6 separate regions of the Homo sapiens genome follow, and regions 1, 2, 3, 4 and 6 are each linked to region 5. The links are contacts of gene promoters, found by promoter capture Hi-C in blood cells and fetal thymus (Javierre and others, 2016). All regions are on one chromosome and are shown on one strand. Each heading gives the region's core, a stretch centred on a gene start or on the middle of the fragment in contact. The rest is flanking DNA. Distances are from core to core; before and after follow the strand shown.

The links. Contacts are between HindIII fragments. The CHiCAGO score rates a contact against its expected background, and 5 or more counts as called.
Region 1: a contact is called between a fragment that was not itself captured here and the fragment with the promoter of CHMP4A in region 5, in 1 of 17 cell types (total CD8 T cells). The highest score is 6.4, in total CD8 T cells.
Region 2: a contact is called between a fragment that was not itself captured here and the fragment with the promoter of CHMP4A in region 5, in 2 of 17 cell types (activated CD4 T cells and total CD8 T cells). The highest score is 6.3, in activated CD4 T cells.
Region 3: a fragment that was not itself captured here is called in contact with the fragment with the promoter of CHMP4A in region 5 in 4 of 17 cell types (neutrophils, non-activated CD4 T cells, naive CD8 T cells and 1 more); the score reaches 9.0 in neutrophils.
Region 4: a contact is called between a fragment that was not itself captured here and the fragment with the promoter of CHMP4A in region 5, in 1 of 17 cell types (total CD8 T cells). The highest score is 6.2, in total CD8 T cells.
Region 6: a fragment that was not itself captured here is called in contact with the fragment with the promoter of CHMP4A in region 5 in 1 of 17 cell types (total CD4 T cells); the score reaches 5.9 in total CD4 T cells.

Annotation. Positions count from the first base shown.
Region 1 is chr14:24,404,178-24,407,337 of GRCh38, reverse strand. The region is part of intron 2 of NYNRIN (NYN domain and retroviral integrase containing); the gene reads right to left. Among named protein-coding and RNA genes, the nearest start is that of NYNRIN, 6.8 kb to the right of the region's middle. The HindIII fragment of the contact is 2,837 bases long and covers 44-2,880 here.
Region 2 is chr14:24,060,258-24,063,838 of GRCh38, reverse strand. CARMIL3 (capping protein regulator and myosin 1 linker 3) reads right to left here. Exons shown (of 40, transcript NM_138360.4): 25 at 3,083-3,211; 26 at 2,799-2,912; 27 at 2,167-2,342; 28 at 1,272-1,359; 29 at 993-1,130; 30 at 656-719; 31 at 306-514. Among named protein-coding and RNA genes, the nearest start is that of CPNE6, 9.5 kb to the left of the region's middle. The HindIII fragment of the contact is 4,487 bases long and covers 46-3,581 here.
Region 3 is chr14:24,446,237-24,449,393 of GRCh38, reverse strand. All of the region lies in intron 2 of LOC101927045 (a long non-coding RNA gene), which reads right to left. Among named protein-coding and RNA genes, the nearest start is that of SDR39U1, 5.0 kb to the right of the region's middle. The HindIII fragment of the contact is 4,219 bases long and covers 1-3,157 here.
Region 4 is chr14:24,041,487-24,044,638 of GRCh38, reverse strand. It overlaps the pseudogene DHRS4L1. Among named protein-coding and RNA genes, the nearest start is that of CARMIL3, 8.9 kb to the left of the region's middle. The HindIII fragment of the contact is 635 bases long and covers 1,310-1,944 here.
Region 5 is chr14:24,212,033-24,215,618 of GRCh38, reverse strand. CHMP4A (charged multivesicular body protein 4A) reads left to right here and starts at 2,131. Exons shown (of 6, transcript NM_014169.5): 1 at 2,131-2,210. The coding sequence starts at 2,180. It overlaps NEDD8-MDP1 (NEDD8-MDP1 readthrough), which reads left to right. Exons shown (of 7, transcript NM_001199823.3): 4 at 1-67; 5 at 1,020-1,127; 6 at 1,224-1,309; 7 at 1,468-1,676. The coding sequence ends at 1,595. MDP1 (magnesium dependent phosphatase 1) reads left to right here. Exons shown (of 6, transcript NM_138476.4): 3 at 1-67; 4 at 1,020-1,127; 5 at 1,224-1,309; 6 at 1,468-1,676. The coding sequence ends at 1,595. RefSeq lists enhancers at 89-827, 1,982-2,276, 1,913-2,412, 1,840-2,648, 2,603-2,722. The HindIII fragment of the contact is 5,751 bases long and covers 1,439-3,586 here.
Region 6 is chr14:24,010,510-24,013,757 of GRCh38, reverse strand. It overlaps the pseudogene DHRS4L1. Among named protein-coding and RNA genes, the nearest start is that of DHRS4L2, 23 kb to the right of the region's middle. The HindIII fragment of the contact is 5,186 bases long and covers 1-3,248 here.

The DNA.
Region 1 (3,160 bases), core at 213-2,712, 190 kb before region 5:
GGGAACAGTAATAGTTCCTGCCTCATTGGGCCACTCTGAAGCTTCAGTGAATTAATACGCAGAAAGTACTGAGGATGACACCTGGCACAGCCTGTTCCCATTTTGCAGGCTGAGAAGAGCTATGCAGCTTGCCCAAGGGCACACAGCTAGAGGCTCTGATACTAGAAATTTTTCCACCTCCTCTGGCAGACCACAGTGACTACAGGGTAATCATGTGAGACTCGAGCTTCATCCCCCTCCAGAATGCCTCTAGCACAACCTGTACCCCTAATCATAGTAACTCTGTTGCCCAGAGGCAACAGAGCAGGAGATAAGCCACTGGGCCAGTGTCCAGGGGAACCCCTGCACCCGCACATACACACAATAGCTAAAGAGAAGGAAGAACTCTGGCTTTCTGGGCAGACCAAGTCCTAGAGTTCACAGAGCTCACAGGGCACACACTTGCCATCTTTAGCAGTGGCTGGGGTGGGCGAGGTTGGGGTTTCTCCACTCTGGCTGAGTTCCATCTGTGCGGTCCCATGAGCTCTCGCTCCAATCAGCCACCCCATGTGGACTTCATATGCCCCCATGCCCCTCCACATCCCCTTTCTTTGATAGTCATCCCTCTCATCCCTCTTCCTGCTTTCCCCTGGCAGTCCCATACTCCATTTTGGATCTCCAGCAGCGATCCTGAAGACCACCCAGGTGCCTCTGCTCAGTCCCCGGGCCATCTTTCCCGGCTCAGGCCTACGTGTCCCTCTTCCACCTGGCCGAGGCCACAGACCTGCAACTTCTTCCTCAGAGCCTGAAATACATGTCTAACCCCTTTTCAATCAGTTCAAAACCAGCTCAAAACCTGATGGACATCCCAAGCCAACCCCTCCTACCCCAACCTCATCTGGTCCCACTGCCTAGCAAGGTTAAATCTGAGCAGGTGTGGGCTGTCTCAGACCTTAACAAATATTCCCCCACCCCAGGCACCCCCATTTCAATGACCGGAAAACAACATGAAAAATGGAGAGATGTGCTGGGGAAGAAGATTATGGGTGGCTTCTTTCTCTTTCTGCAGAGAGCTTAGAATATTTATGGTTCCATCAACTGTCCAATATTTTATTTTATTTTATTTTATTTTATTTTATTTTATTTTATTTTATTTTTTGAGGCAGAGTCTCACTCTGTCACCCAGGCTGGAGTACAGTGGCACAGCTAGAGGCTCTGATACCAGAATTTTTCCACTGGAGTGATCTCAGCTCACGGCAGCCTCCGCCTCCTAGGTTCAAGAAATTCTCCTGCCTTAGCCTCCCCAGTAGCTGGGATTACAGATGTGCACCACCATGCCCGGCTAATTTTTGTATTTTTAGTAGAGATGGGGTTTTGCCGTGTTGGTCAGGCTGGTCTCGAACTCTTGACCTCACGCGATCCACCCGCCTCAGACTCCTAAAGTGCTGGGATTACAGGTATGAGCCACCGTGCCCGGCCCGATATTTTAAAATTAAGAAATATATAGGAACTGTGATAATTTTTAAAATAATAAATATGAACTAATATTTAGTGAGAGCTTATTATGTGTCAGGCACTTTGCACACATTATCTTATTTATTCCTCTCTCTGCCCTTTAAGGAAATACTATTATCCCCATTTTAGATGAGCAAGGAAGGCCATATGTCCAAGATCACACAGTTAGTAGGCTGGGATACTCAGGCACTCTAGCTCCACAGTCGGGGGTCTTCACCATGATGCCGTCTATACTGTAGAGGGAGAGAAGATAAGGAAACAACAGGCATTTACAGCCTGAAAATACCTGAACAGCTTTCCTGCCTAAAGCCAACCCAGACCTTCTTCCTCCAAGAGGAGAAAAAGTAGAGAAGAAGAGGCAGGAACAACTAACAACTAGGTAGAAAGATGATACAGAAGAATAGAAAAGGACACAGAAAAAGAGCACTGTATTTGTAAGAATATATTGTCCAATACCCACAGGTCGTTAGTCAACTTGTAAGTTAAATAAAAGCATTTATATGACATATTTTAATATTATTCTGTACTTGTCAAGGTGCTTTATTACTTAACACCTAACTTAGGGTTCTCCTTTCTCATAAGTCAGTTATCATTCATTGTCTACTTTCCAGAACCACCCCAATTTACACTGCAGGATACTCAAAAGGCTCAGAAAACAACAACAAGAAACTCTGGAATTGGAAGTGAAGGGGAACATGAAAAACCAGGTTCTTTGAGGAGCAGTTAGATCTGGGAGCCCAACCACTCCCAACACACATACACACACACACACACATTCACACACATTCACACACATTCACACACACACATTCTCTCACACACACACACACACACACACACACACACACAGGCTTGGCAAGTAGCTTCCCGCTCACTGGAGGGCTGTTCTCCAGGGAGTACAAAACAAGGTCTTAGGAGTCGAGGTTGATCAGCATAATCGAAGGTGTGAGCACCACACAAAAAAACATGGAGGGAGTGAGGAGGGCCAAAGAATGATGTATACAATGCAAGCTAAACGCAGAGAAACTCATTCTTCCCACTCAGAGATTTGCTTGGCAGCCAGACCCTGACCCTCCAGGCCAGGGAAGCAGGCATACATTCTGGAAAACCTGGCCAGCCCAAGAGCAGAGACTTAAAGATCACAAAACGGGGTCCCTAACCAACAGCACCTGCAAATCTCTGTACAATCAAGCTCAAAACCAACAAGTCTTGCCCACAGCCTCCACTCCCAATCAGCTTTTTGTCCTTCACTCTTTATCATGCAAGGATTATCAGGCTTGTGAGGAAAACTTCTAATGTGAAACACAGAGGACAAACCATACAGGAAAACAAAAAAGCAACCTGAAAGAAGAGAAACTAGGGGGGAGAAGAAAACTTCAAAAAGCTTACTATCATTTCTATCCTCAGAGAGGTAACAAAGAATATGGTAGACACTAAACAAGAATAGAATACATACGTTTCAAATTGGATTTAAAAAGCGTAGGATACTATTTTTTAACAGAGAGAATATAAGTGACTTCTAGACATTAAAAATTTGATGGCAGAAATGAAAGACCCAAGAAAAGGCTTCAAAGATAAAATTAAGGAAATCTTCAGAAAGCAGAACAAAAAGTTAAAGTTGAAAAAGAGGAGAAAACATAAGAAAAGCAGAGGACTTCCAGAAAGA
Region 2 (3,581 bases), core at 1,040-3,539, 150 kb after region 5:
CAGGCCTGAGCCACCATGCCCAGCTCACCTAGTGTTTCCTAAGCTTGGTGGCTCTTGGTGTTCTTGGTGGCTCTATCCTTCACCAAAATAAGAATGACACTGCCCGGCAGACAGAGCTTTCTTATCTGTGACAAGGTCTAGCTCTCATAAAAACTGGGCAATCCCTCATCTGTTCATTGGCATGCCTGGACTCCTGCCCAATCCCTCAAGGCTACTGTCTCTGGCATTTGGGTCCTAAAGGTAAAACTCCTGGCTCTGGTGTCACTGAGTGAAGGGGATCCTCTTGTGAAGCCTTAGGGACTCACACTGGGTCGACCAGGTCCTGGAGGTGTGGTCCTGGGGGGGCGGGGCCTCCCTTGTGTTTGATGCCTTAGTTTGTAACCATGAGTGGGCAGCTCAGATAGACCTTCCCAGGAGCCACTAGCTGTGGGCTGGCTGCCCCCAAGTCCTGAGAACCAGCCAGGGGGGATCCCCAGATTCCCCAGTTGGCTTTCCATGTCCTGAGGGCTCCCGCCTGCAAAGACAGCAGCATTAGAGGGACTAGCAGAGGAATGGGGAGAAAGCAGGATGGGGAGACAGAGAAAAAATCAAGGGAAAGAGGGGCTACAGAGGGCGGGAGTCTGGAGTCCATGAGAACGGAGGCTGGGAGACTCACTGATGAAGGCAGACACCGGCCGAATCTTGCGGCAGCGTTTCTGCTTTTTGATGGCCATGGTGTCCTGCAGAAATGAAGACGAGTGGCAGGGCCAGGCACCTCACCCAGAGCCATCCATTCCTCATGAAACCTTATTTGAGCCCATCCTGCCCCTCGCTCCTCAGGGGGCTGAGGCACTGGGATGAGGGAAGAGGTTGGGCTGGATTGAGATTGGAGGCAGAAGGCCAGGCACAGTGAGGTGGCCAGGGGAGTACAGATCAGTGGAAGGGGACAGTGTTGTGCAGGTTTAAGGGCAGGGCCCAGGTTATTAAGGAGGAGCAGGGAGCGGGGGGCTCACAATGTTGGTCCCAAGTTCATCATCTGTGGTCTCCTCATGGTCATGGTTCCGGCCTCGGCCCCGGGAGGACAGATCCTGCCCTTGGCCTGGGCACCCTGGTGGATCTGACAGCGTCCTTAGCTGGGTCAGGTGCCGGGCCTGGGGAAGGGCAGGTGTGAACAGAATTCCATGGAAGCTGCCCACCTCCCAGGGCCTTGAAGGGGAGGGTGATTAGGGAGACAGGATAATGTGGGGTGGAGGGCGTGCCCGAGCCAGGCCAGGCTGCAGAAGAAGCCTTACCAGGCTCTTGTGGGAATGGTAGAGCTCTTGCAGGATCTCATCCACTATGGAGCTGGTTAGGTAGGTGACGACTGAGAGCTTCACTTCACTGTGGGCACAGGTGGGGCTACTCAGAACATTAGCACCTCAGTCCCCCGCATGGCCCCTGAGGCACTCCCTCTCCCAGAAGCCTGAGAGAACGGCCAGCTGGCCTGGTCTGTCTGCCCATGGAGCGCATGTGGCTGCTGAAGGAGGCAGCCTAGCCCTTGACACTCATTTCTCCACAAATACACGTCTAGTCCCACCCCAGAGCCCCCAGCCCAACTATGTGTGGGGAAAGAGGAATTCGAGGAGAAGGAGCAAGGGGGCCCTAGGTCAGGCCCCTGGAGCCCCAGTGGAACAGAGCTAGGTAATTGGGGTGCTGAGTAACTAAACCCTGCTAGTTGCTACTGTGAGGGTAGGAAAGACCCTTCCTTGGGCCTAGCTGTTTCATAGGTATGTGTACTAGTTTTCCTTTGGTTTGGTGAGTGGTGGCACCCAGACCCAGAATGAAAGAACTCTAGGGGCAATGAAAACTGGGAGGAAGACAGTGCTTCCATGCACCCAACTCAGGTACTTTTCTTTGTCCATGCCTCCGAGGAGGCCCTGCTATCCCATTCCTGGTGTATTTGTGTGGGTATGTGTGTGTACACCTGTGTGGGCACAAACTTGGCTCCTAAACCCCAGCTCAGCACTTAGATTTCTAGGGCAAAGACCAGCCAGACCCTAAATAGCAAGGTTGCACTTGGTTAAAGATTGATCCTTGTAATGGAGATTGTGCCATTCATTATTCATTGCTGATAGCTCTCCAGTCCTAAGTCCCTAAGTGATCTGGGCCAAATCCAGCTCAGCCCCAGCCCTGCCCTTTGCCTCTCACTCCAGCTTGTTCTGAATGTCCTGTCCTGCTTGCTCCAGCAGTGCCCCTCGGATGAAGTTCCGGGGCACAGTGACACGCTCCGCCACATTGCTCAGCATCTTGTTGTGTCCCTCGGCCACCCGCATGGCCACAGGGCATAACTCCTGTGTCAGGCTGACCATGGACTCCAGGATCACCTAGTATGGGGGAAAGGGAGGCCAGAGGCCCAAGGGGGACAGGATCAGGGCTGGCACCACAGCAGAAGAGACTTTATCTATTCCAGCCCCTCCTGCTGAGACTGAGGGACCTGCCTAAGTCACAAAACTGTTAGTGGCAGAGCCTTGGACACTAAGGCTTCCCCACTTTCTGGTCAGTGCTCCTTCCACCCTACCATACAGACAGGGGCAGTCAGTCCAAGGATCCAAATCCAGAGCAGGGAGGTCAGAGTTCAGGGACCAACATCAAAGCTAGCAGAAAAAAATCCAAGCCTGATATTGCAGCAATGCCTTGGTACAGTGGGAGCGTGGGTGGTCTCAACTCTGCATGTCCTCCTGGCCCTCCAGAAGTCTCCCAGCTCTGACTTTAGCTCTGGGCTTAGGGCCTCAGTCAACACTAGGTTCCCACCATGGATTCCTCCCTCCTCCAGGACTTGCCTGCAGCTCCTTGTCCACAGCTTTGGACACCTCACTTGCTACTGATTCCAGCCTCTGCCGCACAGGCCCATCATTGGCCAGCACGTGGCCCAGCTCATAGAGGCTGGGAAACAGCTGGAGAAGGAAGGGGTTATGATTAGCAGGCCAGAACCAGGACTTGCTAGGTCTCTGGGGTCCCTGGGCTAGGAAGGCAGATGCACAGGGCAGGGCTGTCATGGCTTAGCATGGTCGGCCTTCTTGGGTTCTCCAGACTTCAGGGGAAGGGTAGCCTGTGGAGGGCTCACCGCCCGGGAGTTCTTGGCATCTTTGATGAGGTCCCGAGCGTAGAGTAGCTCATCCTGCACAGGCTCCAGGGGGCATAGTCTCAGGGCCCGCACCTCCTCCTGCACTCGTCCACACAGCCGCTGCAGCATCTGGAGCACAGTGGCAGGGGTGTCAAGGGGACCCCTGCTTCCACATCTTCGCAGGTAGGACCCCTTAGACAGTGCTACTGGTGCTGGCACCGACAGTGGTGGAGGTGATGTCTCTGGCTGGCCTGGTCCCCATTGCTACAGCCTTCTTGAATGCCCAGCTGAGCTCCCAGAGTCCTGTGCACTCCTGCTGTTCGCCCACATATGTTTGAAGCCCATATCCTGCATGTCCTCTCTTTTTGCTTCCCCACATGCTCAGTCCAGTGATAGGCACCATGCAGTGCCTCTTCATGCTCCCCCACTCAATTTTCCATCACATCACACTGTGCCCTGCATGCCCCGGGTATGCCCCGTGTCCCAGAGGGAAACGTTT
Region 3 (3,157 bases), core at 321-2,820, 230 kb before region 5:
ACAAGCATTCCTAAACACCAATAACAGACAAAGAGAGAGCCAAATCATGAGTGAACTCCCATTCACAATTGCTTCAAAGAGAATAAAATACCTAGGAATACAACTCACAAGGGATGTGAAGGACCTCTTCAAGGAGAACTACAAACCACTGCTCAATGACATAAAAGGGGACACAAACAAATGGAAGAACATTCCATGCTCATGGATAGGAAGAATGAATATCATCGAAATGGCCATACTGCCCAAGGTAATTTACAGATTTAATGCCATCCCCATCGAGCTGCCAATGACTTTCTTCACAGAATTGGAAAAAACTACTTTAAGGCTCATATGGAACCAAAAAAGAGGCCGCATTGCCAAGACAATCCTAAGCCAAAAGAACAAAGCTGGAGGCATCATGCTACCTGACTTCAAACTATACTACAAGGCTACAGTAACCAAAACAGCAGCGTACTGGTACCAAAACAGAGAGATAGACCAATGGAACAGAACAGAGCCCTCAGAAATAATACCACACATCTACCACCATCTGATCTTTGACAAACCTCACAAAAACAAGAAACAGGGAAAGGATTCCCTATTTAATAAATGGTGCTGGGAAAACTGGCTAGCCATATGTAGAAAGCTGAAACTGGATCCCTTCCTTACACCTTATATAAAAATTAATTCAAGATGGATTAAAGACTTAAATGTTAGACCTAAAACCATAAAAACCCTAGAAGAAAACCTAGGCAATACCATTCAGGACATAGGCATGGGCAAGGACTTCATGTCTAAAACACCAAAAGCAATGGCAAAAAAAGCCAAAATAGACAAATGGGATCTAATTAAACTAAACAGCTTCTGCACAGCAAAAGAAACTACTATGAGAGGGAACAGGCAACCTACAGAATGGGAGAAAATTTTTTGCAATCCACCCATCTGACAAAGGGCTGATATCCAGAATCTACAATGAACTCAAACAAATTCACAAGAAAAAATCAAACAACCCCATCAAAAAGTGGGTGAAGGATATGAACAGACACTTCTCAAAAGAAGACATTTATGCAGCCAACAGACACATGAAAAAATGCTCATTATCACTGGCCATCAGAGAAATGCAAATCAAAACCACAATGAGATACCATCTCACACCGGTTAGAATGGCAATCATTAAAAAGTCAGGAAACAACAGGTGCTGGAGAGGATGTGGAGAAATAGGAACACTTTTACACTGTTGGTGGGAGTGGAAACTAGTGTGGAAGGGAGTGTGGTGATTCCTCAAGGATCTAGAACTAGAAATACCATTTGACCCAGCAATCCCATTACTGGGTATATACCCAAAGGATTATAAATCATGCTACTATAAAGACACGTGCACATGTATGTTTACTGTGGCACTATTCACAATAGCAGAAACTTGGAACCAACCCAAATGTCAATCAATGATAGACTGGATTAAGAAAATGTGGCACATATACACCATGGAATACTATGCATCCATTAAAAAGGATGATCCATTGTAGGGACATGGATGAAGCTGGAAACCATCATTCTGAGCAAATTCTCGCAAGGACAAAAAACCAAACACTGCATGTTCTCACTCATAGGTGGGAACTGAACAATAAGAATGCTTGGACACAGGGTGGGGAACATCACACACCGGGGCCTATTGTGGGGTGGGTGTGGGGGGAGGGATAGCATTAGGAGGAATACCTAATGTAAATGATGAGTTAATGGATGCAGCACACCAACATGGCACATGTATACATATGTAACAAACCTGCACATTGTGCACATGTACCCTAGAACTTAAAGTACAATAAAAAATTTTTTGAATTAAAAAAATTTTAATTTTTCAAAGTTCAGGTTGGTTCTTTTATCAATTCTGCTGGTATTTTTTGATAGCATCTTGTCTCTTTCTCATGTTTTTAATTTCTTCTCTTTCTTAAACGTTTTAAACTTTGGTAATTTTATATTCTATACCTCTAAATTCTAACACTTTAAATCTTTGTCTAAATCTGCTGTTTTCTGTTTCGGTTTGGTTTGATTTTATTTGACACCCTCAGAGTGCTTTGTTTCCTTGTGTGTTTTGTAATTTTGTATTGTATGTTTATGCTTGGCAGGATTTTATCTATTGAAATCCTGTGAAACCAAACCAAGGGAAGATTTATGTCTTCTATCTGGAACACTTAATTTAAATTCTTGGGTTAGAGCTTTCTAGGCCAAGTAGGTAACAATTAATTCAAACCACAAATATGCAGGCGGACAGGACAATAGATACAACTTCTCAAAGAACGGTAATTTTTTTGACAACCAATCCTAGACAAGAGCAAAGCCTAGAGAAACAAGTTTCCAGGCCATGTTCTTTGATACCAGGTGGACTTTTAAAGTTTACTTTTTATCTGAGAACACAGCCCAAGGGCTTTATCCAGGGGTCTCAGTCCCAAATTTGCTTCGATCTCAGGCATGGTCTCCTGTCACCCAAGCCTCTGGGTTACTGAAACTAAAAGTCACAAAATACCTGTTAAAGAAAATTATTCAGTGACACTTGATAGAGTAAGGTAAGGAAGACTTTCCATCACAATAGGTACAGGTACCACTACAATGTGGTCTTGCAGTGGGAGAGATTGGGGTCAAGTATGAAACAACATGGGCAAGTGGGAATTTATAGCCAACGAATACGGTGGGGGTCAGTGGATGAAAAATTAGTAAGAGAAAAATATCAAGGGTAAGAGGGATTCTGGCTAACCCAAACTAACGGGATTCATGTGAAGATAGGCCAAGGTGATCAGACATCACCTAGGGGATGAAGGATGAGGGGCCTGATCAGAGATTGAGAGTGATCAGATATCAAGGGTTGAGGGGGTTCTTGCTAAACTGACTTAGCAAGGCTCTTTGCGAAAACTGGATTTTACAAAGAGGTGTACAAATGAGCCTAGAAGGTTCAGAAGCCTGACTAAAGTTTGGCCAAGCAAATAATCTTTGTCATAACCTCAGTCCCAAGACACATTTCATTTTTTGGCTTCTGGGATTTTTTTATTTTTCTAGCTAACTTGGCAATACATTTAAATGGAGGTATGTTTAATTTTATCCAGCATATCCAGGAATTTTAAACTGGGAGTTTTTTAAACTATACGTGCCACTATAATGTTCCCCTCATATGGTTTTCAAAGAT
Region 4 (3,152 bases), core at 378-2,877, 170 kb after region 5:
CTCTATTCAGACTGTTCATGAAAGATGTTCCTCCATTGTAAAGACTATCAGAATCTGTCTGGGTGCAGTGGCTCACGCCTATAATCCCAGCACTTTGAGAGGCCGAGGTGGGTGGATCAGTTGAGGCCAGGAATTTGAGACCAGCCTGGGCAACACAGTGAAACCCTGTCTCTACTGAAAATATCAAAAATTAGCCGGGCATGGTGGCACATGCCTGTAGTCCCAGGTACTTGGCAGGCTGAGGCACAAGAATCGCTTGAACCTGGGAGGCGGGGGTTGCAGTGAGCTAGATCGCAGCACTGCACTCCAGCCTCGATGACACAGCGAGGAAAAAAAAAAAAAGAGGGACAAAGCTTAACAATAAAAAACTAGCTCACTGAAGAACATTTTGGCACTTTGGTCTTTATGTGTATGAAACACTGGTAAATAAATCATAGTGTTTTCACATCCTGATACTTTAGTGTTGAGAAATGTTTGATGACATCTGATATAGTTGGTATGTTTGTCCCCTCTAAGTCCCATGTTGAAATGTGATCACCAGTGTTCAAGGTGGAACCTGGTGTGAGGTGTTTGGGTCATGGGGTGGATCCCTTATGAATGGCTTGGTGCTCTCCTGGTGGCAATTAGTGAGCTCTCACTCTATTAGTTCATGCCAGAGCTAGTTGTTTAAAAGCCTGGTATCTCACTTCCTCTCTTGCCATGTAACGCGCCTGCTCCCTTTTGCCTTCTGCTATGATTGTAAGCTTCCTGAGGCCTCATCAGAAGCAGATACTGGCACCATGCTTCTTCTGCAGTCTGCAGAAGTGTAAACCAAAACAACCCTCTTTTCTTTTCTTTTTTTTTTTTTTTTGAGACGGAGTCTCGCTCTGTCACCCAGGCTGGAGTGCAGTGGCGCAATCTCGGCTCACTGCAAGCTCCGCCTCCCGGGTTCACACCATTCTCCTGCCTCAGCCTCCCAAGTAGCTGAGACTACAGGTGCCCGCCACCACACCCGGCTGATTTTTTGTATTTTTAGTAGAGACGGGCTTTCACCATGTTAGCCAAGATGGTCTCGATCTCCTGACCTCGTGATCTGCCCGCCTCGACCTCCCAAAGTGTTGGGATTACAGGCGTTAGCCACCGCGCCCGGCCACAACCCTCTTTTTCTTTATAAATTGCCCAGCTCAGGTATTCCTTTATAGCAACGCAAAACAGACTAATACAACATCAGAGTAAAAAGCAAAACCATGGGAGATCATAAAAAATTAGCATTTCCAAATCGTGGGACTATTAACCTTAGTATACAAAGACAAATATTTTAATTAAAGCTTTGTAATTAAAGAATGTGTGTGAAATATATTACGAATGTAATGTAATTATATACTTACACATAAAACCCAATATTGTACCACTTGAATATAGACATCTGGATCTCAGATTTTCTTGACATTGCAGTTAGGAAGAAAATAATATAGGTTTTTATTTTTACTTTTTTAAAGGATGTATATTATAAAGTGGCAACTGGTTATTTCACCAGAATTAGTATTTTACTTAACTAGCAGCTTTTAATATTTCCCAGCTAATGAAAAATGATTCCTTTTTGGCAGCTGAAAGGGGGACAGTTGGGTGTGTAAGTTTAAGTGTCATAGTTGTTGGCATATTAGCTGCCACGTCTCTGTTGGAAATCAACCAGGTAGCAGAGCATGCCGGGAAGAAGGCTGGGGAGGGGAGCAGACGGTGGATAGTGAAGGGCAGATGGAAGCAGACAGAAGTAGGAGCAGCAGAAACGAATGAGAAGGGCAGGGACAGAGGAAGCTGCCCCCACCCGCCCTTTACCAGGTGTGCTCCAGGTGTGTGGCATGTGGCAAAGACTCCTCACATTTACACTGCACTTGATAAACACATTCTAAAAGCAGACGGAGTTTGTTATCGATAGTGATAGGATATCAATAACTCCATGAAGCTTCATAGCCTAGGGAGAGGGGTAAGGTCTGGACCAGGGCTGCAGTAAGTAAGGGAGGTGCATTTATTCACGTTGATAAAAACTTCCTTCTGGGCGGGGCGTGGTGGCTCACGCCGGGAATCATGGCACTTTGGGAGGTCACGGTGGGAGGACCACTTGAACTGAGCAGTTTGAGAGAAGCCTGGGCAACATAGGGAGACCTTATCCCTATATTTAAAAAAACAACAACAATGACAACAACAACAACAACAAATCTTCCTTCTTAGGAACTATCGTCAAAATAACTTCTATTTCTTAAAACATCTTTTTTGAAAACTACCCTAAGATCTGCTGCTAACCATTTAAGGTTGGCTTCTTTCTTTTTTTAGATGGAGTCTTCCTCTGTCACCCAGGCTGGAGTTCAGTGGCATGATCCCAGCTCACTGCAGCCTTGACCTACTGGGTTCAAGCCATCCTCCTGCCTCAGCCCCCCAAGTAGCTGAGAATACAGGTGCGTGCCATCACACCTGGGCAATTTTTGTACTTTTTGTAGAGACAGGGTCTTGCCATGTTGCCCAGGCTGGTCTGGAACTCCTGAGCTAAAGCCATCCGCCTGCCTCGGCCTCTCAAAGTGTTACAGGTGTGAGCCACCAGGAAGTTGGCCTTATTTCTTTTGCAGTGTTTTCTTCCCACCTCCTATTCTTCTAAGGCTGTCTCTGACCCTATGCTCTTTTCTTTACATTTTCCCATTTGGGAGCTCCTTCATTCTCGTGATTTCAAATCTCACCCCAAAATCTATTTCCAGACCCCTCCTCTTCCTTTCACACTGAGTTCCACCCACATTTCTCCAAGTGCTTACTGTCCAGTTCTTCTTGAATAAGTTACCATTATTTCAAAGTCAATCTGGCCACACTTACCTGAATGGAAAAACTGGCTTAAATAGAGCTGTAGAAAGTTACCCTGGAGGGGCCTTTGAGATCATCTATTCCAATGTCCTTAAGGTGGAGATGATGAAACAGGTTCAGGGAATTTTCTCAAGATCATATAGTTCAGTAGTAACACACTGGGGCTAGCTAAGAACAGGAGGCCTGCTTATTCCGTGTTGGGGAAAGTGATTTGTTCAGGGCATAAAGCTAGTTAGTGGTGGAAGAACTGAGGTCAGTCTCCCACTTTGTAGCACAGAGCTAATTCGTAAGAGCCCTCTGAAAGTGAGCTGGGGTCATTAGGAAAC
Region 5 (3,586 bases), core at 882-3,381:
ACCCAGAGGTGCCTGAGGTCCTAAAACGATTGCAGAGCCTTGGGGTGCCCGGTGCGGCTGCTTCAAGGTAAGAAGAGCGACTGACAACTGACAGTGTAATGCTGAAGGGTGCATGCAAGAGACAGTGAAACCCCTGGTCTACAAAAATAGGGGCGGTGCAAGTTTCCAAGTATTTACATATTTTTTCCCTTGAACGCTCTCCTGTGCCTTTTAACTATTAAAAAGTGGGGCCAGCAGGCGGGCGCGGTGGCTCACGTCTGTAATCCCAGCACTTTGGGAGGCCGAGGCGGGTGGATCACGAGATCGGGAGTTCAAGACCAGCCTGATCAACATGGTGAAACCCCGTCTCTACTAAAAATACAAAAATTAGCAGGGCGTGGTGGCACGCACCTGTAATCCTAGCTACTCGGGAGGCTGAGGCAGGAGAATCGCTTGAACCCGGGAGGCGGAGGTTGCAGTGAGCTGAGATGGAGCCACTGCACTTCAGCCTGGGTGACAGAGTGAGACAATGTCTCAAAAAAAAAAAAAAAAAAAAAAGTGGGGCCAGACACAGTGACTCACACCTGTAATCTTAGCATTTTGGGAGGCCTAGGTGGGAGGATCACTTGAGCCCAGGAATTTGAGACCAGCCTAGGCAATAGAGGGAGACCCTATCTCTACCAAAAAAAAAAAAAAAATTGTAGTGGCGTGCACCTGTAGTCCCAGCTACTTGGGAGGCTGAGGTGGGAGGATCACTTGAGCCCAGGAGGTCGTGACCACAGTGAGCCGTGATTGGGTCGCTGCACTCCAGTCTGGGCAACAGAGCTAGACCCTGTCTCAAAACAAAAGCTAAAACATTGGCCCAGCACCAATTGTGTCAAATAGGAAGGCAATGGAGTTAAACAGAGGCTGAGGATGCCTGTCCATCCCGGAAAAACAGCAAGTTGATTTCCCTGGTTATACTTACTAACTTTGCTTAATAAGTTAACGTAGCCCTGGCCCTTCACTTTGCTAATCCCATCTTTTACACCGTTTTGCAGGACAAGTGAGATAGAAGGGGCCAACCAGCTACTGGAGCTCTTTGACCTCTTCAGGTACTTTGTTCATCGGGAAATCTATCCAGGCAGCAAGATCACACACTTTGAGAGGTATGCGGAGATAAGGGAGGAGCAGGGTGAGAAAGTATCAGAGAGGCCTGGGAAACCAAGATACTAGCTTGGTTACTCCTGCCCTGTCTTGAATAGGTTGCAGCAGAAGACTGGAATTCCTTTCTCCCAGATGATCTTCTTTGATGATGAGAGGCGGAATATTGTAGACGTCAGCAAACTGGGTACTGAGTGATGAGGAACAGCCATTTGGGGTCCCTAGGAGGGATTAGGTAGATACATACAGGTTGGATAGTTTGCCCTATAGGTGGCACTCACAAAGGTCAGAGTAATAATGGAGAACCCTGAAAGCTTAATGAAATGTGACTTCTTATCTTTCTAGGTGTTACCTGCATTCACATCCAGAATGGAATGAATCTTCAAACTCTAAGTCAAGGGTTAGAGACATTTGCGAAGGCCCAAACTGGGCCTTTGAGGTCCAGCCTTGAGGAGAGCCCATTTGAGGCCTAAACTGAAAGGAAATCAAGAAGGCATTTTCAGGTGCATTTGTAATTTATTAAAGTTCATCTGTGTGTGACAGAAGAGATTTTACCCACAGTGTGGGGAGTTTCTATTTTTCTAGCCTGTGAAATGGGGTTGGTTGTCCTGAGGTGCAGAGACCAGAATGTGAGACATTAGACTGCATCAGGTTTGCCATCTAAACTTAGGGCAACCCCAAGTGCTTGAACCTATACCACCCCACTTTCCTGAGCTCTGTAAAGAGCATGAAGTTTTCCCACTGACCCCATACACTGAGGTGCCATCACACTGCACATTTCCTTCCGGAGAACAAGCACGTACTCAGGTGGAGATAGAACTGTCTTTTTACTTAATAGAAAATGATGTGGCAGCTTTAAGAGGAGCGCGTCGGTCTGGGGCTGGTGGCTTGGGTCACGTGACACCGGTGGTCTCGTTTGCGCCTCTTGATGTCGCGGCGGCGCCCTGAGGACGGATTGGGCAAGGCTGGTCCCTGTGTGATGAGACATCACCCTCCCAGGAGCAAGGCGGAAGTCTGGAGGACGCTGAGGGGCGGAGGCGGGAGAGGCGAGCTCGCGATGAGTGGTCTCGGCAGGCTCTTCGGGAAGGGTGAGCCAGGGTGGGACTGGCCAGCCAGGAGGCGCTGGCTGGTGCAGGGGAAGAGGAGACCCCGGCGAGATTCGGCCGGACCGCTGCGCCGGGCAGGGGAAGAGAATCAGGAGACAGGCTGACTGGAAAACCCCGGCGGCCGATGGCGGAGCAAGGCTCATCGCCGGTGCCAAAAGGCACACCATGTCGGGGCGCCTTGTTCCCGTCCGCCGTCCTCCCCCACTCTCAGAGGGAAGAACTCAAGATCTGGGAGGGGACTTGAGTTGAGGGCGTGGCGATCGTGCTGACTCCCACTGTTCAGGCTTGAAGACGAGTTTCCTGCTGTCTTCAGCCATTTTCAAAACCTTGTTCTATAATACTTTGTGCTGGGCAAGAGGGATCTAAGGTGAAGAAGAAAGACTGCCTTCTTAGCCCGGCGCGGGGGCTCACGCCTGTACTCGCAACACTTTGGGAGGCCGACGTGGGTGGATCATGAGGTCAGGAGTTTGAGATCAGCCTGGCCAATATGGTGAAACCCCGTCTCTACTAAAAATATAAAAATTGGCCGGGCGCGGTGGCTCACGCCTGTAATCCCAGCACTTTGGGAGGCCGAGGTGGGTGGATCACCTGAGGTCAAGAGTTCGAGACCAGCCTGGACAACATGGTGAAACCTTGTCTCTACTAAAAATACAAAAAAAAAAAAAAAATTAGCTGGTTGTGGTGGCACGCGCCTGTAGTCCCAGCTACTGGGGGAGGCTGAGACAGGTGAATCGCTTGAACCCAGGAGGCGGAGGTTGTAGTGAGCCAAGATTGCACCAATGCACTCCAGCCTTGGTGACAGAGGGAGACTCCATTCTCAAAAAAAAAAAAAAAAATTAGGTGGGCATGATGGTGTGTGCCTGTAGTCCCAGCTACTCAGGGAGGCTGAGGCAGGAGAATCACTTGAACCCGGGAGACGGAGGTTGCAATGAGCTGAGATCATGCCACTGCACTCTGGCCTGGGCAACAGAGCGAGACTCTGTCTCAAAAAAAGAAGTCCTGGCGCGGTGGCTCATGCCTGTAATCAAAACACTTTGGGAGGCCGAGGCGGGCAGATCACCTGAGGTTGGGAGTTCGACACCAGCCTGACCAACATGGAGAAAGCCTGTCTGTACTAAAAACACAAAAAATTAGCCAGGCATGGTGGCACATGCCTGTGATCCCAGCTATTTGGGAGGCTGAGGCAGGAGAATTGCTTGAACCCAGGAGGCGGAGGTTGAGGTGAGCTGAGATCACGCCATTGCGTTCCAGCCTGGGCAACAAGACTGAAACTCTGCCTAAAGAAAAAAAAAGAAAGGCAGCTAGGAATAGTAAAAAGAATATTGGTTTTAGAACTCATACTGCCACATCTTGATTCC
Region 6 (3,248 bases), core at 264-2,763, 200 kb after region 5:
AATCAGGCTACTAATCCTGTTGTTAATATAGATGCAGACCAATTGCCAGAAACAGGTCCAAATTGGAGCACTATTAACCAACAATCAGTAATGCAGAATGAGGCTATTGAACAATTAAGGGCTATTTGCCTCAGGGTCTGGGAAAAGATTCAGGACCCAGGAACCTCCTGCCCTTCTTTTAGTTCAATCAGACAAGGCTCTAAAGAGCCATATCCAGACTTTGTGGCAAGGTTGCAAGATGCAGCTCAAAAATCGATTGCAGATGATAACGCCCAAAAAGTTGTTGTAGAAATAATGGGTTATCAAAATGCAAATCCAGGATGTCAATTGGCCATAAAGCCATTAAGAGGAAAGGTTTCAGCAGGAGTTGATGTAATTACAGAATATGTGAAGGCTTGTGATGGGATTGGAGGAACTATGCATAAGGCAATGCTACTGGCTCAAGCAATTACGGGGGTTGCTTTAGGAGGACAAGTTAAAACATTTGGGGGAAAATGTTATAATTGTGGTCAAATCGGTCATCTAAAAAAGAATTGCCCAGTCTTAAATAAACAGAACAAAAATAAACAGCCACCTGGCCTGTGTCCAAAATGTGAAAGAGGAAAACACTGGGCTAAGGAATGTTGTTCTAAATTTGATAAAAATGGGCAACCATTGTCAGGAAACGAGAAGAGGGACCAGCCCCAGGCCCCGCAACAAAGTGGGGCATTCTTGATTCAGCCATTTGTTCCTCAGGGTTTTCAGGGACAACAACCCCCACAGTAAATACCACCATTCCAGGGAATCAGCCAATTACAACAATACAACAGTTATCCCCCACCACAGCAGGCAGCGCAGCAGTAGATTTATGTTCTACTCAAATGGTTTCTTCACTCCCTGGAGTGCTCCCTCAAAAGATTCCTACTGGGGTGTATGGCCTGCTGCCAGAAGGGATGGTAGGCCTTATTTTAGGAAGATCAAGTCTAAATTTAAAGGGAGTCCAAATTCATACTGGGGTAATTGATTCAGATTATAAAGGGGAAATTCAGTTAGTGATCAGCTCTGCTGTTCCCTGGAGTGCCAATCCAGGTGATAGAATTGCTCAATTATTGCTTTTGCCTTATATTAAAATTGGGAATAGCAAAACAGAAAGAACAGGAGGGTTTGGAAGTACCAACCCTGCTGGAAAAGTTGTTTATTGGGCTAGTCAGCTCTCAGAGAATAGACCTGTGTGTACAGTCACTATTCAGGGAAAGCAGTTTGAAGGATTAGTGGCTACTGGGGCTGATGTTTCTATTATTGTCTTAAATCAATGGCCAAAAAATTGTCCTAAACAAAAGCCTGTTACAGGATTTGTTGGTGTGGGCACCGCCTCAGAAGTGTATCAAAGTGCCATGATTTTACATTGTCTAGGCCCTAATAATCAAGAGAGTACAGTTCAGCCTATGATTATTTCTATTCCAATTAACTTATGGGGCCGAGACTTGTTAGAACAGTGGCATGCAGAGATTACTATTCCAGTCTCCCTATACAGCCCCACGAGTCAAAAAATCATGACTAAAATGGGATATCTCTCTGGTAAAGGACTAGGGAAAAATGGAGAAGGCATTAAAGTCCCAATTGAGGCTAAAAAAATCCAAAAAAAAAAAAAAAAAAGAAATAGGGTATCCTTTTTAGGAGTGGCCACTGTAGAGCCTCCAAAACCCATTCCATTAACTGGGAAAACAGAAAAGCCTGTATGGGTAAATCAGTGGCCACTACCAAAGCAAAAACTGGAGGCCTTACACTTAGTGGCAAAGGAACAATTAGAAAAGGGAAACATTGAGCCTTCATTTTCACCTTGGCATTCTCCTGCGTTTGTAATTCAGAAAAAATCAGGCAGATGGTGCATCCTAACTGATTTGAGAGCCATCAATGCAGTAATTCAACCCATGGGGACTCTCCAACTTGGGCTGCTTTCTCCGGCCATGATCCCCAAAGATTGGCCTTTAATTATAATTGAGCTAAAGGATTGCGTTTTTACCATTCCTCTGGCAAAATAGGATTTAAAAAAATTTGCTTTTACTATACCAGCCATAAATAATAAAAAACCAGCCACCAGATTTCAGCGGAAAGTGTTGCCTCAGGGAATGCTTAATAGTCCAACTATTTGTCAGACTTTTGTAGCTCAAGTTCTTCAACCAGTTAGAGACAAGTTTTCAGACTGTTATATTATTCATTATGTTGATGATATTTTGAGTGCTGCAGAAACGAGAGACAAATTAATTGACTGTTACACATTTCTGCAGACAGAGGTTGCAAACGCAGGCCTGACAATAGCATCTGATAACATTCAGACCTCCACTCCTTTTCATTATTTGGGAAAGACCAACAGAGAAAAAAGAGAAACTGGGAAAGAAAGGAAGAGAGAAAGTGAGAAGAGAAATCAGAAAGAGAAAGGAGAGAAAACGGCAGATGTGGAGAGCCAGGGAGAAAAAGAAAAAGAAAAAGAGACTGAGTGTGAAGGAGAGAGGACACGGGATGACAGACAGAGAGAGAGAGAGAGAGAGAGAAAGAGAGGGAGAAAATGAGTAAGAGAGAGACTGGAAAAGACAGAGATCAGAGAAAGACACAGAAGGTGAGACTGGGGAAAAAAATAATGTAAAAGAGAAAGACAGAGATCAGAGAGAGACACAGAAAGTGAGACTGGGAAAAGAAATAGTGTAAAAGGAAGAAAAAGAGAAAAAGAGAGAGAGACCATAAGAGAAGGGAGACAATGAAACAAAAAGTGCGAGTGAGCAGGTGAGGAGAAAGATTGAAAACTATGAGAAACAACAACTAAGAGACAAAGGAGAAGGGAGACTGCCTGGGTGCCGGAGCACCCACACTGTCCTCTTGCCCCCATCACTTGGGTTAAAACCATTGGAAATTCCACTATTGCAAATTTTGTATTAATCCTTGTATGTCTGCCCTCTCTATTGTTAGTCTACAGGTGTATCCAGCAGTTCCAGAAAGACAGTGACCAGCAAAAACAGGCCATGGTGACAATGACAGTTTTGTCAAAAAGAAAAGGGGGATATGTAGGGAAAAGAAAGAGAGATCAGACTGTTACCGTGTCTATGTAGAAAGGGAAGACATAAGAGACTACATTTTGAAAAAGACCTGTACTTTAAATAATTGCTTTTCTGAGATGTTGTTAATTTTTAGCTTTGCCCCAGCCACTTTGACCCAACCACTTTGACCCAACCTGGAGCTCACAAGAACATGTGTTGTATGAAATCAAGGTTTAA